2 separate regions of the Homo sapiens genome follow, and region 2 is linked to region 1. Evidence: promoter capture Hi-C in 16 types of primary human blood cells and fetal thymus (Javierre and others, 2016). All regions are on one chromosome and are shown on one strand. Each heading gives the region's core, a stretch centred on a gene start or on the middle of the fragment in contact. The rest is flanking DNA. Distances are from core to core; before and after follow the strand shown.

What was found. Contacts are between HindIII fragments. The CHiCAGO score rates a contact against its expected background, and 5 or more counts as called.
Region 2: a contact is called between a fragment that was not itself captured here and the fragment with the promoter of BTF3 in region 1, in 1 of 17 cell types (activated CD4 T cells). The highest score is 5.2, in activated CD4 T cells.

Annotation. Positions count from the first base shown.
Region 1 is chr5:73,494,927-73,501,461 of GRCh38, reverse strand. BTF3 (basic transcription factor 3) reads right to left here and starts at 3,020. Exons shown (of 6, transcript NM_001037637.2): 1 at 2,663-3,020; 2 at 2,260-2,328. The coding sequence starts at 2,794. BTF3-DT (BTF3 divergent transcript) reads left to right here and starts at 3,142. Exons shown (of 1, transcript NR_186388.1): 1 at 3,142-3,909. RefSeq lists a silencer at 2,536-2,585 and enhancers at 2,222-3,032, 2,796-3,095, 3,126-3,185. The HindIII fragment of the contact is 2,385 bases long and covers 1,465-3,849 here.
Region 2 is chr5:74,756,191-74,762,725 of GRCh38, reverse strand. GFM2 (GTP dependent ribosome recycling factor mitochondrial 2) reads left to right here. Exons shown (of 21, transcript NM_032380.5): 3 at 1,740-1,824; 4 at 3,300-3,357; 5 at 3,780-3,877. Among named protein-coding and RNA genes, the nearest start is that of GFM2, 7.7 kb to the left of the region's middle. The HindIII fragment of the contact is 4,143 bases long and covers 1,168-5,310 here.

The sequences.
Region 1 (6,535 bases), core at 1,771-4,270:
TCCTGGTTTATTTCTCTTCATAACACTTATTACTATAAGAGATAAATACATTTTATCATCCATCTCCTCTCCCTAGAATGTAAGCTCCATAAGGACTTCTGTTTATTGCTATAAACCCAGTATCTACAACAGTATCTAGCTCACTGAAGGCACTCAAGGAAAGTCTATCACACCCAACCACCTCACCGTCCCCCAACCTCCATCCCTATTCCTATTCATCCTTTAAAATCTTATTCAAGTCATTACCTCCTGTTTGCCTTTCCTAAATTCTGCAATTACCCCCTTTCCCTATGCCAAATCATTCCCATCTCTAGATTTTGAAAATGCTTCTACTATTGTACTATGTATATTACACTGTGAAAGAAGATTTTTTTAAGAAAAGACAATTATCGCCACTGCTAGGCTTAAAGCCCACCTAGGGACTTTAAACTTCTTAAAATTTTATATTCTCAGGATCCAACATAGTAAAGGCTTAAATAAATCTTGTTATTTAACTGAAGAAAATATCTATGGCTACAAAAAAAAAAAAAAAGTACTGGTTACTAACCTCTCCAAACTATTAAGTACAAAAATCACTTTGAAATGGTCATGTATGTATCTGGTTTCCAAAGAAATCTTCTCTAAGAAACTCAAAGGAATTTCTAAGATTGTAAAGACAAACCCAGCATACTTTCTAGAGGTTTCATACACTTCACATATGTAGAGTTCAATTTTCACTTAAATAATTATTATTAATGCTGTGATTAGATATGAAAATAAAGGGCTTTTGTAACATTTACCTAAGAGCACCTAACACCTGCAGTTTTCTCTAAAGCAAAATTAACTCACCTAATTTCACATCCCATAATAAGTACGTTTCTTAAACAGTGTAGAAATGTTTCCATATTGTGACTACAGAAATACTTCTTGTATTATTAGCTAAACGAGTATTAAGATGTTAGGACACAAAATTTAATCTTGTTATCAGCTTTAAATATCCTAGCAAATCTCAAGATTTCCTTTACCCTAAAATGATGTCTCCCAAAGTTAAAGCCTAATGATGAGAGTAACAACAAAAAGACTGCACATAAGCACATTATTCAAATTACTCCTTCTGAAACTGTACTGAAAGTAAGAGTGGTTAAAAACACCAATATAAGAGCATCCAAACACTGAGACACAAAAAATTTGAGTTTTGCTGGCACTTGAAGGCCACAGTCTGATAACAATTGATTAAAGAGGACAAGAAACATCTAATGTTGTTAAATGTGTGGGTGTGGATCCTGAAGATGGCTAACGTTAACAAAAATAAAAAGTAAAAAAAAATCAGGATAAATTCACCGCTGGCAAAGTTCAGTAATTTAACAAAGCTGTATATTATTATTTAAGTCTAAGTGCAACTTCTGGCTATCTCACAGCTAACTCTAAGTTAAACGCTTAAAGTTGGGAAAAACTAAAAGGTAATAAACATGTACCATGGAAGCTTTACAAGTTTTACCAAGTAAAGACATGCTCTGTTTCAACAAGCTACCACACCTTGTTAAATACTAAGAATGTGCTAACAATACAAACTAGGTAGACCTCTGTCTACAGTGGACTTCTTATTAATTACAGGACAATCTAAAAATCAGCTTCAAAAAAGAATCCCCTTGATGTGAATCAGTATCCACCAGGAAAAAAACAATTAATCAAAAACTGATCATTTAAAAATCAGTCACTTTAATTCCCTCATTTTTACAGTAATACAAAGTCAGAACAGGAAAGATACCTACTTGGGTTATATTTTCAAATCTAATAGTCACTGCTCTTAAACTCCAAAATGTACCCGTATCTTCAAATACCCTTGAAATATGCAACTACCCTAAAGAATATTTAGTTCAGAAAGCAGTACAGAAAGGTCTCAATTTACAAGAGAGACAAACAAGCACTGACTTTAGAAAACTCAGGCCAAAACAAGTCAAGGGTATGATGTGCACAACGATCTAACTGAAATGACACATTTTCCTTACTAATTAAATTAGGAAACACTTTTGTGTTCTACTTACACTCTGTAACACTGAAAACACAAACATGTTTACACAAAGGCGATGTTTTTAGCTCGTCTCACTGATGTGTCTCCAACCCTCGTCTCCCCCGCTCCTCGAGATTTGCTAGCTCCGTGAATTTCCCTCGATAGGCAAAGTTTGTCACCGATAATATAAGAAGCGCAAAAGGAATATGTTTTTTAAAATACCTAAACCTTAAAAAAAAAACCCACAAACCCGAACTATTAAAACTTACTTTCCCACCAATGCGCACTTGTGCCTGCAGTTTGGCGAGTTTTTCCTGGTTCATGATTGTTTCTTTCATCTAGAAAAAGAGGAAATCCTCAGCAAGGATAGGTTTAGCTCACTCTAGCATTCCATGCTCGTTATTTCCCAAGATACCAGCAGGAAAATAAACGTCCTACACAGGCCGAAACCTGGATCCCAAATCCACCCCGCAAAGCTCCAAATTTGGGTTTCCAGGGAGCCCAAAGAGCACCCGCCTCCCCACCACTCCCCCACAGCTCCCCGCTCTTGGCAGGCCCGGATGAAAGGCTCTACCCCACGCCTGGCCAGCACCCCCCACCCCTGGCCCTGGCCTGGCCTCGGCCTAGCCAGGGCCTGCCCGGCCCGGCCACTCTCCGCAAGCCTCGCGGTACCTGAGGCTCCTGTCCTCGGGTTCCGCCGCGAGGTGGAGGTTGAGACAGCGTCGCCTCGCCCCCAGGGCAGCCGCCCCTGGCTCGACCTCGCCCCCGAGAGTCAGCCTGAGCGGGTGCGCCTGTCCGTCGCATCGCCTTCCTCTCCTCCTCTGCCCTGTCCCTCCCTGTCTCGCTCCTTCAGGGAACTTCCCGCCCCCGCTCCCGTCCTCCTACCACGCCGCCGTCCAGAGCCTTTTTGTACCTTGTCGGAGCGAATAAGGGGCCGCGCGGGGGACTAGGGTTGGTGCTCAAGGGGTCTCGGGTGGACCACCTGAGATTAGGCGCACACACGCGGGGACGCAAGATGGCAGCTAAAGGGAGGCCGGAAGTGACACAAGGCCACTTCCTTCAAGAGTCAGGAAACTGACTTCGCCGCGAACTCGGTTCCTCCCTGCGCACGCGCGACAGCGTTTGTGATGGTCCAGCGAGTCCCTATTCTCCTCCTCCTGCTCCAGCGGCTGCCGGCTGTAGGCCCTACGAGAGACTGCTGGCTTGGGGCGCAGCCCGTACCTCTGGGAGAGGCCACAAAGGGGTCGGAGAGCGCGGTCCTGTGCACAGTTAGGGTTAAGTCCGCTCAGTCTCCATTGGGCCCTGATCCTGAAGTTCTGTGCCCTCCGAAGAAAGGGCCTATTCACGTTTCCTGGAGACGCCGGAGGTGCCCAGCTTGTGCTCACCACTCAAGCAGCTCTCCCCTTGCTGGAGGTGTGGGTTGGAGAATTGCAGAATTTCCCTCTCGGCCCGAATGAGCCATTACCAAAGCATTTTGTCAAAAATAGTGAAGTTAGTTTGGCCTTCCAAGGTTAGGTGGTGTGGTAGATTGCGGGACCGAGGTTCAGAATTTCTGGGGGCTGTATCCCCGAGCCCCACTCCTCAGAATGCAACTCTGTACGACGAAGGAACTGGGTAATCCGCATTTCAGCCAATTTAGCAGATGACTAACCACCTTAAAACGGTCCACACAATTATCTTGTTTATCAGGCAAAAAAATTGACTCCTAGGTACCGAATTGGCATGGATTTGACAATTAGCGATTCACGGTTAAGCAGACTTTATCTATCTTAATCCAATCAAAGGAGAATTTCTGCCTGCTGTGTTTGGAGAGACAACGCGTGGATGTGAGTTAAACTTTGTTAAACCCAGGACAAGCTTTAAGATAAAACGACTGATATTTAAAATGGCAATTTAAATAAAAATGTTCTCTGATCAGCCTTTTTGTGGTCTTAACCATGAAATGTCTTTGCATATTCAAAAGTGAGTCCGAAATCTTAGAATGCAATGTGTGTAGCAAGAAAACTTGTTCAAGTGCAGACCCCTCTCCAGTTAAGATCAATGTTTAAACTTTTTGAATACTTTTTACATATAAGTTTGTTGCAACTGATGTCTCAAGAACATAACTGGTGAGGACAGCTGTATTGCCTTTTAGAATAATTGTTACAGTTATATTTACAAAAAACAATGTTGCTTCAGTTAAATATGAGTGAAGTTTTAGTACAGGTAAGGGTGTTTGTAGTTAGGCTTATGTGGGTTACCTTCCTAATGACAAAGGCCAAAATGGCAGTACCAACATTATGCTGTGCTCTGGAGATATTACAAAATATATAGAAAGACTCCCCCTTTTGGAAGAAATGTGTATCTTTGTCCAGGAACAGTTTTTTTCCTCTCCTCCATGTTATATTGGAGGCATTTGAAACTTCCTAGTCACGTGATGTTTTCTGAGCTTTTATAGAGACAAGATTGTATGTATGTAACCTGCCACCTTTTTTTTCTTTTTCTTTGCCTTCCCTCTCCTCTGCCCTTTTAATACACCTGTTTTCAGGAAATATTGTGAGCTACTTTTATTTATTTATTTATTTCTACTTTTTGAAACCAGGGATGCTGCTAATTTTATTTTTATAATTTTTTTAAAAAATATAAAACTTTAAAAAAATTAAAAGAGATGGGGTCTCACTTTGTTGCTTAGGCTGGGCTCAAACTCCTGCGCTCAAAGGATCCTTCAGTCTCAGCCACTTGAGAAGCTGAAACTACAGGTGTGCACCACTTTCCCTGGCTTATGACTTTTTAATTTTCCCCTCGTTCCTACTTTTTTCTCCTGTTCTTTCATGAATTTAAAAGTTTGCTGCGTGTTGAAAATATAAAAGATTACTTAATAGTAAAAAAGAAAATTTTGATTTTCTTTTTACGTTCTGTTTTGGTTTGGTTTTTGTGCTTTTCTATTTAGAGATGGAGGTCTTGCTATGTTGCCCAGGCTGGTCTCAAACTCCTGGGATCAAGCCATCCTCCCATCTGGGCCTCCCAAAGTGCTGGTAGTACAGGCATGAGCCACGATACCTGGCCAAAATTTTGATTTTTGACTCCAGCTGCTTCTGCTGGTTTTATGAGTAGTCAGGAAATTCTGATTCTTCTAATAAAATAATTATATACTAGACTTTTCAAAAATATGGGATTTTTTTGTTTCAAAAAAAGTTATTACATTGCAATCTTAGCTCAAGGATGCCAAAAGAGTAACTTGTGCTAATGTGGGAGCCATTTCCAGTATGCTCCCAATGTCTATGGCAAATGTGGGTAATTGGCTCCCACGCTTTCCTGCTGGGCTTCAAGGAGCCTAAGAATCATTTACTCAGCACTCAAGATTGTATCTGTCAATAGAGAAGGCAAGAAAGGTGAACCCTGTTTGCCCTCCTTGGTTTCTAGTTTATAGCCTAATCAAAGTCCATGAATTGTTTTCATCTCTCAGCTGGATTTGAGTCAGCTTCAGCAAAAGCCAAAATATCCACTTTATATAATGCTTATTTCTTTCTTTCTTTTTTCTTCTTTTTTTTTTTTTTTAGTCTCATCCTGTTGCCCAGGCTGGAGTGCAGAGCACTCGGCTCACTGCAACCTCCACCTCCCGGGTTCAAGCGATTCTCATGCCTCAGTGTCCTGAGTAGCTGGGATTACAGGTGCCCACCACCACACCCAGCTAATTTTTGTATTTTTTATTACATGTTTCACCATGTTGGCCAGGCTGGTCTCAAACTCCTGACCTCAAGCGATCTGCCTGGGATTGCAGGCATGAGCCACCATACCTGGCCAACTCAATATTCTTAATAGGTGGTAGGGCTATTTCCCTTTTTCACTTTTGAGACTGACAGATTTGCAGATATTCTATGTACATTTTAGGTTTTGTTTCATTTTGAAATTTTGATTAGGATTGGTTGTATAGATCGATTTGGGAAACTTATATATTTTCTAATTGTATGCCTCTGCATTCACTTGTAGGAAATCTGGCTATTTTTAATACACAGGGATTTAATATAGGGAATTGGTGCTTTACAAAGTTTGAAGGACTGGAGGAGTGGGCTTTAGCCTGGGCTGTCAGAAGTGAGTCCTAAGATAATACAGATTTAGTATCCCTAATCCAAAAATTTTAAATCCCAAATGCTCCAAAATCCCAAGCTTTTTGAACACAAGCATCATGCTCAAAGGAAATGCTCATTGAGCATTTCAGATGACAGATTTTCAGATTAGGGCTGCTCAACCAGTATGTACATAATGCAAATATTCCAAAAAAAAATCCCAAGTCTGAAAAATTTCTGGTTCCCAGCATTTCACATAACAGATACTCAACCTGCACTCCAGAACTGGGCTGTCATAGGACCTGCTGCAACTGTTTTCACCCATTAGGAGGATAGAGAATCAGGACCCTACAACTGGAATTATTGATGTTAAGAATGCACCACTGTAGCTACAATTCAGGAATCAAGAAGATAACTGTAGTAAGTACTACTCAATACCCACAAAGCTAATGACTGAGCTCTGGAAAGCTGCTGCAAAAAATATATCTCATGAGCATGC
Region 2 (6,535 bases), core at 1,990-4,489, 1.3 Mb before region 1:
TATCAGATTCACTGTTGTGATACTGCAGTGCTTGTGTTCAAGTAACCTTTATTTTACTTAATCACGGTCCCAGAGCGCAAGAGTAGTGATGCTGGCAATTTGGATGTGCCAAAGAGAAGCCATAAAGTGCTCCCTTTAAGTGAAAAGGTGAACATTCTTGGCTTAATAAGGAAAAAAACAAATCATATGCTGAGGTTGCTAAGATCTATGGTAGGAATGAATCTTCTATCCATGAAATTGTGAAGAAAGAAAAAGACATTTTTGCTAGTTTTACTGTTGCACTTCAAACTACAAAAATTATGGTCACATAACATGATAAGAGCTCAGTTAAGATGGAAAAGGTATTCAGTTTGTGGGCAGAAGACATGAACAGAACCATGTTCTGATTGATAGTAATTAGGTTCTGTACTATCTGAGGTTTCAGGAATCCACTGGGGGTCTTGGAATATAACCCCTGTGGATAGGGTGTGACTGCTGTATGGGAGAACCTGTAACCCTTAAGAAGCCTTACCATTCGTCTACAGTTTTTTTGTTGTTGTTGCTAAGAAGCCTTACCATTCATCTACAATTTTTTTTTGCTACTTTAAAAATCACCTGAGCAGCATTTTGAAGAAGATATATTTCTGTATTCCATTTGTGATCTCATTAAGTGGCCCAAGGAGTTACCCAGTTTTTCTTCAGTGCTTTTATTGCTGACGCTTTCAGACTATGCACGCTGTGATAGACACTGGGTCTTATCCTAGTCATTATGCAGTGGAATTATTTTCTGAGGATAGTAGCTTATTATTGCCAGAAACTTGGTAACTAATGTAGAAATAATATAGATCGCACAGATACGCAGTTCATGAAACAAAAAGCAGATTGTGGTGGCCCTAAATCATTACATACACTAACAATTCCAACTACATTGGCAGCTATTAAATGTATATCTAGTGGTCTGGGCATAAACTGAGGTGGAGAATATTCAGCCTTTACATGAGAACATGAGAAGGTTAGGTAAGCAGCTAAGGTAGAGGAGGTAGGCTTGGCCTTAAGCAGACCTGCTCTAACTCAGTGATTCTCAGTTGAATGCTACATTGGAGACACCCTGGGAATTTTTTTTAAATGCCACTGCCCAGTTCCTCCAGTTCTCATTTTCTCTCCCCACCCCCGTGTCTTCAAGAAGCTTTCCAGATGATTCTAATGTGTAACTGTAATAAATCCTGAAAACAACTAATGGTTTTAGAGTTCATTGCCCCCTACAGACCTTTCAGCAGATGTAGAGGAAAACCAAGGTGTATCCTGGGTGAGATACCTTATTTAACCTTTCTGACTCAGCTTCTGACTTTCAGAACTTTAGGGTTGTGGTTCTCAATCTGTAGCTATTAGAATCAACTGGAGAGCTAGTTTAAACAGATTGTTTGGCTCCATCCCCAAGAGTTTCTGATTCTCTTGTCTGGATTGGAGCCTAAGCATGTTTTTCAAACAAGCCCTCAGCCCATGCTAATGCTGCAGGTTGAGGAAAACCATTGTTTTAAGGTCAGCTCAAAATAGCAAATCAGTATTAATTTTATCCTTATTCTTTCCCCTAGGATATATTTGGATTGTCACTTTTTAAAAGAATTGGAGTTAATAAATTAGGACTACTTTAAAGCTATACAAAATATTTTATCTTCTGACAAAGCGTAATTACAATATTAACACTGTAATAAGTGATGCTAAAATAAAATTAATGCCAAGTTTCTTTTTCTCTTTACTAGAATATATGCTGCTATAAAATAAGAGCAAGTTTAAAAAGATTAAAGCCACATGTGCCGCTTGGAAGAAATTGCAGTTCTCTACCAGGTACAAATGTTAGAGTCTTCTAATTTTATCTAAGCTGTTTGCTTTATCTCTTTTCTCTCTCTTGTTTGCAAGAATCTCCCTTATTAGGGCTCTGTAACCATTTTTTACTTCTTGGCTATTTCCTTGAGATTATTAGGGGCGGGAGTGTTCAGATAGGTGCCAGAAGGAAATACTAGTAGAGTTGTGCTCCTTATCTGAGGAACACGCTGATGAACTGAGCAAAGGAAAGGTTGGTGGCTTTAGTAGCTAGTTTGCAAGTTTAACATGTGAGTGTAATTGTAGAGTGCTCTTGTGAATTTCTTTTTCTAGTTTATTTCTGTTTTTTATGCAAGTGTTTTCTGTCAAGAGAGATTTACTAGAATAATTTATTTTGAGGATTGTTATAAGTAGTTTGGCTAAGTATTTGGGATTGTTTAGGTTAGATACATGGCATCAGAAGCTGGAAGGTGGAGGAGTTGACTTACTTTTGAATGTCCTTTCTGTGTTTGAAACAAGCAAGTGTATGGTAGACTCTATGAAACTAGTTTAATTCTGTTGCTGTTCTCATTACTGTGTTTGTCATGTGAGAATAATAGAATAAAAATACTGATTGGCTGTTGACTTACAAGGGCAGATTAATTTAATGGGCTACGTTATTGGTGTGTATCTAGGTCTCTGAATTTGGCTAATATGAATTTAACTGTAGTAGTATAGATTATCTTTTGATCTTCAAACCACCATGAAGTTTCAAAAATAATATAAAATTCTCCTTTTTGTATTATAGAAACATGGGAGAAATGGTTTAAATAACAGGAAGGCTTTAATTAAATTTACAAATGTAACTGCCTTGTTTCTTTAGAAATTACTTCTTAATATTAGTAAACTATATATTAAGCATAGAATAAGCCATATGGACTTTTTTATTTAAGAAATACTGCTTGGCCTTTCAAAAGTATTAAATTGTTATAGCTTCTATTCAGTGAAACCTCCCAGGCAGTCTTTAAAGGTATTGTGTCCTGGGATTGCTGAGGAAGGCAAGTTCCAAATTGTATAATAATTCATTATCAGCTGACATGAGGATCACTCTTAGCTCTTCAAACCCTGGAAAAGGCAGGTTTATAGGACTGTGCATTTAAAATTTTTTCTTTGATTCAGGATCATTGCCTTAAGATTATTATTATGAGCATTTATTCTAGTTCTACAATTTTGTAAATGGAAGTGAAGTAGGTGGCAGAGATTGGGGTGAATCTGTATTTTTCTGAGGATATGATCTAGAACTTGATGTTTAAAACTTTTACCTTGTTTTATTGTCATCCATAGCTTTCCTTATACATTGCAAGGAAATAAATTTTAGTTTATTTTAGATTTATTTAGCTTGAATTTTACTTTATTTGGACTTACAGTATTTGCTTAAAGTTATTTTAAAGTCTTTCATTTATAAATTAAAGGAAAATTTCATAAATGTAACAGTTCAATTTTAACTTTCTTTTCATTAGGCTTAATAGGAAATGATATCAAATCCCTTCATTCCATCATCAATCCTCCCATAGCTAAGTAAGTACTATCATTATATCATGCTTTTCCATAGACTGTCACGAAAATTTACAGGTTTTTTCTGATGGACAAGAGTGAATGCTGTAATTTCTATGACTTTCTGCCCTAGCCAATTTTAAGTAGATGTTGATAATGTATCTTAGCTATTTTTTCTCAATTAATGCTAAAAATTTTTAATGTAACAACAGCACACTTTTCTAGAATGAATATAAGATAGTCTCAAAATTGTAGGTTGTAGTTAGCCCTTTTGTTACTTAGCTATCTTATCAGAGTAATGTGGATATACTCTAAATGTTTTCCATTTTTCTAGTTTTTACACAGTTTTATAAATTATAGAAATACCAGCTTTGAAATTTGGATAGCATATATACTTTGGTTTTACAATTTTAGTAAAGTTTACCTTATTTTTTCCTTTTAAACAGAATCCGTAATATTGGAATTATGGCTCATATTGATGCAGGCAAAACTACCACCACAGAAAGAATATTGTACTATTCCGGATATACAAGATCACTGGGAGGTTAGAATGGATTCCTCCTCTTCCCACCCCCCCATTAGCAAAAGCATCATTGGAAAATATTTTGGTTAACAAGTCAACTTACACACCTTGAATATGGCATAGAGCTACTGATGTCTAATCCACAATTTAAAGATAAGATAGTTGCAATACCCACCAAAGGGTCTTCTTAGATTCAACTAAATATTCAGACTTGTAAGACTATCATAGGCCCCACTGGACACTCGTCTACTCAGAATGCTACAGGACAGGAACCACAGCTTACCAACAGACCAGCATTAGGTGTTTCTTTCTAGTAGAGTCCTTATAGCAGTCCCCGTAGCTATCTGGGAGCTATCTTCTTTGGCTGCTCCAGAGTAATGGATTAGATGCAAGGTGACAAGATTCATAGGAGCCACCCTAGCTTAGAAGATTCATGCCCCATAGGAATGAATGTCTCTTGTTATAACTTCATAGGCATAGCTTCCAGGTGTCACCTAAGGTACATGCCATACACAGGGAAGCCCAGAGTTCGGTATCTCCATAAGGTACTTATATATATAATTCATTTATAGTTCTTCGCAATTCAGATTTAGTTTACCAATCAGAAGTTGTTTTTTCCATAAGTTATATTGCCTAGGAATGTAGTTGACATACCTCTGTTATCTGGTTTCTAGAAGAAAAGAACCAAAAAAAGTAACCAGAAGTTAAATTCTCACATCAAAGAGGATTTTGTTAATCCTTAACCAAGTTATCTTTTGTCTTTTAAATTGTAGTTAAAAAAACATAAAATTTACCATCTTAACTATTTCTAAGTGTTAACTATTTTGGTAGTGTTAAGTATATTCACATTATTGTGCAACCAATCTTCAAAACATTTTCATCTTTCAAAATTGAAATTCTATACCCATTAAACAACTCCCATTTTCCCCTTTCCCCGGTCCCTTGCAACCATCCTTCTACTTTTTCTTCATGACTTTGACTACTCTAGGTACCTCATATAAATGGAATCGTAAGTATTTGTCTTTCTATGACTGGTTTATTTCACATAGTACAGTGTCCTCAAGGTTCATCCATGTTGTAGCATGTGTCAAGATTCCTTTTTAATTTTTTAATTTTTTTTTTTTTTTTTTTTTTTTTTAGAGACATAGGCTCTTGCTCTGTTGCCCAGGCTGGAGTGCAGTGGCCCAGTCACAGCTCACTGCAGCCTTGAACTCTTGGGCACAAGAGATCCTCCTGCCTCAGCTTCCTGAGTAGCTGGGACTACAGGCAGGTGCCACCACACTTGGCTAACTTTTGTATTTTTGGTAGAGACAGGGCCTCAGTGTGTTGCTCAGGCTGGTCTCAAACTGGGCTCAAGTGAAGATTCCTTTTATAAGGCTGAATAATATTCCATGTGTTTTTATTTATTTATTTCAAACTAATGCAGTTTATTATAACAAGAAGGAAATCAAGCTTTACAGTAATTATAGTCACTAAGCTGAAAAATCACCTACAAAAGTCATGGCAATAACTTATTTACAGTTAAAAAAGAGAATATCAAGATCTTGCTCTCATAGTAAGGTAAACTAGACATGTACACAATCTTATGATGCCAAGAAACTGAATATATAAAAATAGAACCCACATAGAATGTTCTCTCTCTCTTTTATATACACACACATTTGCTCTGTGATTGCCCTTAATTTTATGTCTTTATCATAACTGGTTTATTATATTTATAATTAAAGATAATCTTAGACTTTATATTCTAAAAAGCAACTAGGTTAACAGTTTTCTCCCCTAAGGCTTATTTTATTTTATTTTTTATTTCAATAGGCTTTTGGAGAACAGGTGGTTGGTTACATAAGTTCTTTAGGGGTGGTTTCTGAGATTTTGGTGCACCCATTACCCAAGTAGTGTACACTGTACCCAATGTGTAGTCTTTTATCCCTCACTCCCCTCCTGCCCTTTCTCCTGAGTCCCCAAAGTTCATTGTATCACTCTAATGCCTTTGCATCCTCATAGCTTAGATCCCACTTATGAGTGAGAACAAATGATGTCAGTTTTCCATTCCTGAGTTACTACACTTAGAATCCTGGCCTCCAATTCCATCCGAGAATAGTGGTCTCCAGTTCCATCCAGGTTGCTGCGAATGCCATTATTTCGTTCTTTTTTATGACTGAGTAGTATTCCATGGTGTGTATATGTGTGTGTATATATATATACACACACACTTTACACTGTTAGTGGGAATGTAAGCTAGTACAACCACTGTGCAAAACAATGTGGAGATTCCTTTAAAAACTAAAAGTAGAACTACCATTTGATCCAGCAATCCCACTATTTGGTATCTACCCAGAGGAAAAGAAATAATTATACGAAAAAGATACTTGACCACGCATGTTTATAACATCACAATTCGCAAAAATATGGAACCAGCCCAAATGCCAATCAATGAGTGGATAAAGAAAATGTGGTGTATATGTCCACTCCACATCCACTCCAACATCTGTTATTTTTTGATTGTGGCCATTCTTGCAGGAGTAAGGTGGTATTGCATTGTGCTTTTGATGTGCATTTTCAAAGAAAATGTGGTGTGCATGTATGTGTATATGTATGTATATACACATATATGTATAATGTTGGCTGTGGGTTTGTCATAGTTAGCTTTCATTACTTTAAGGTATGTCCCTTCTATGC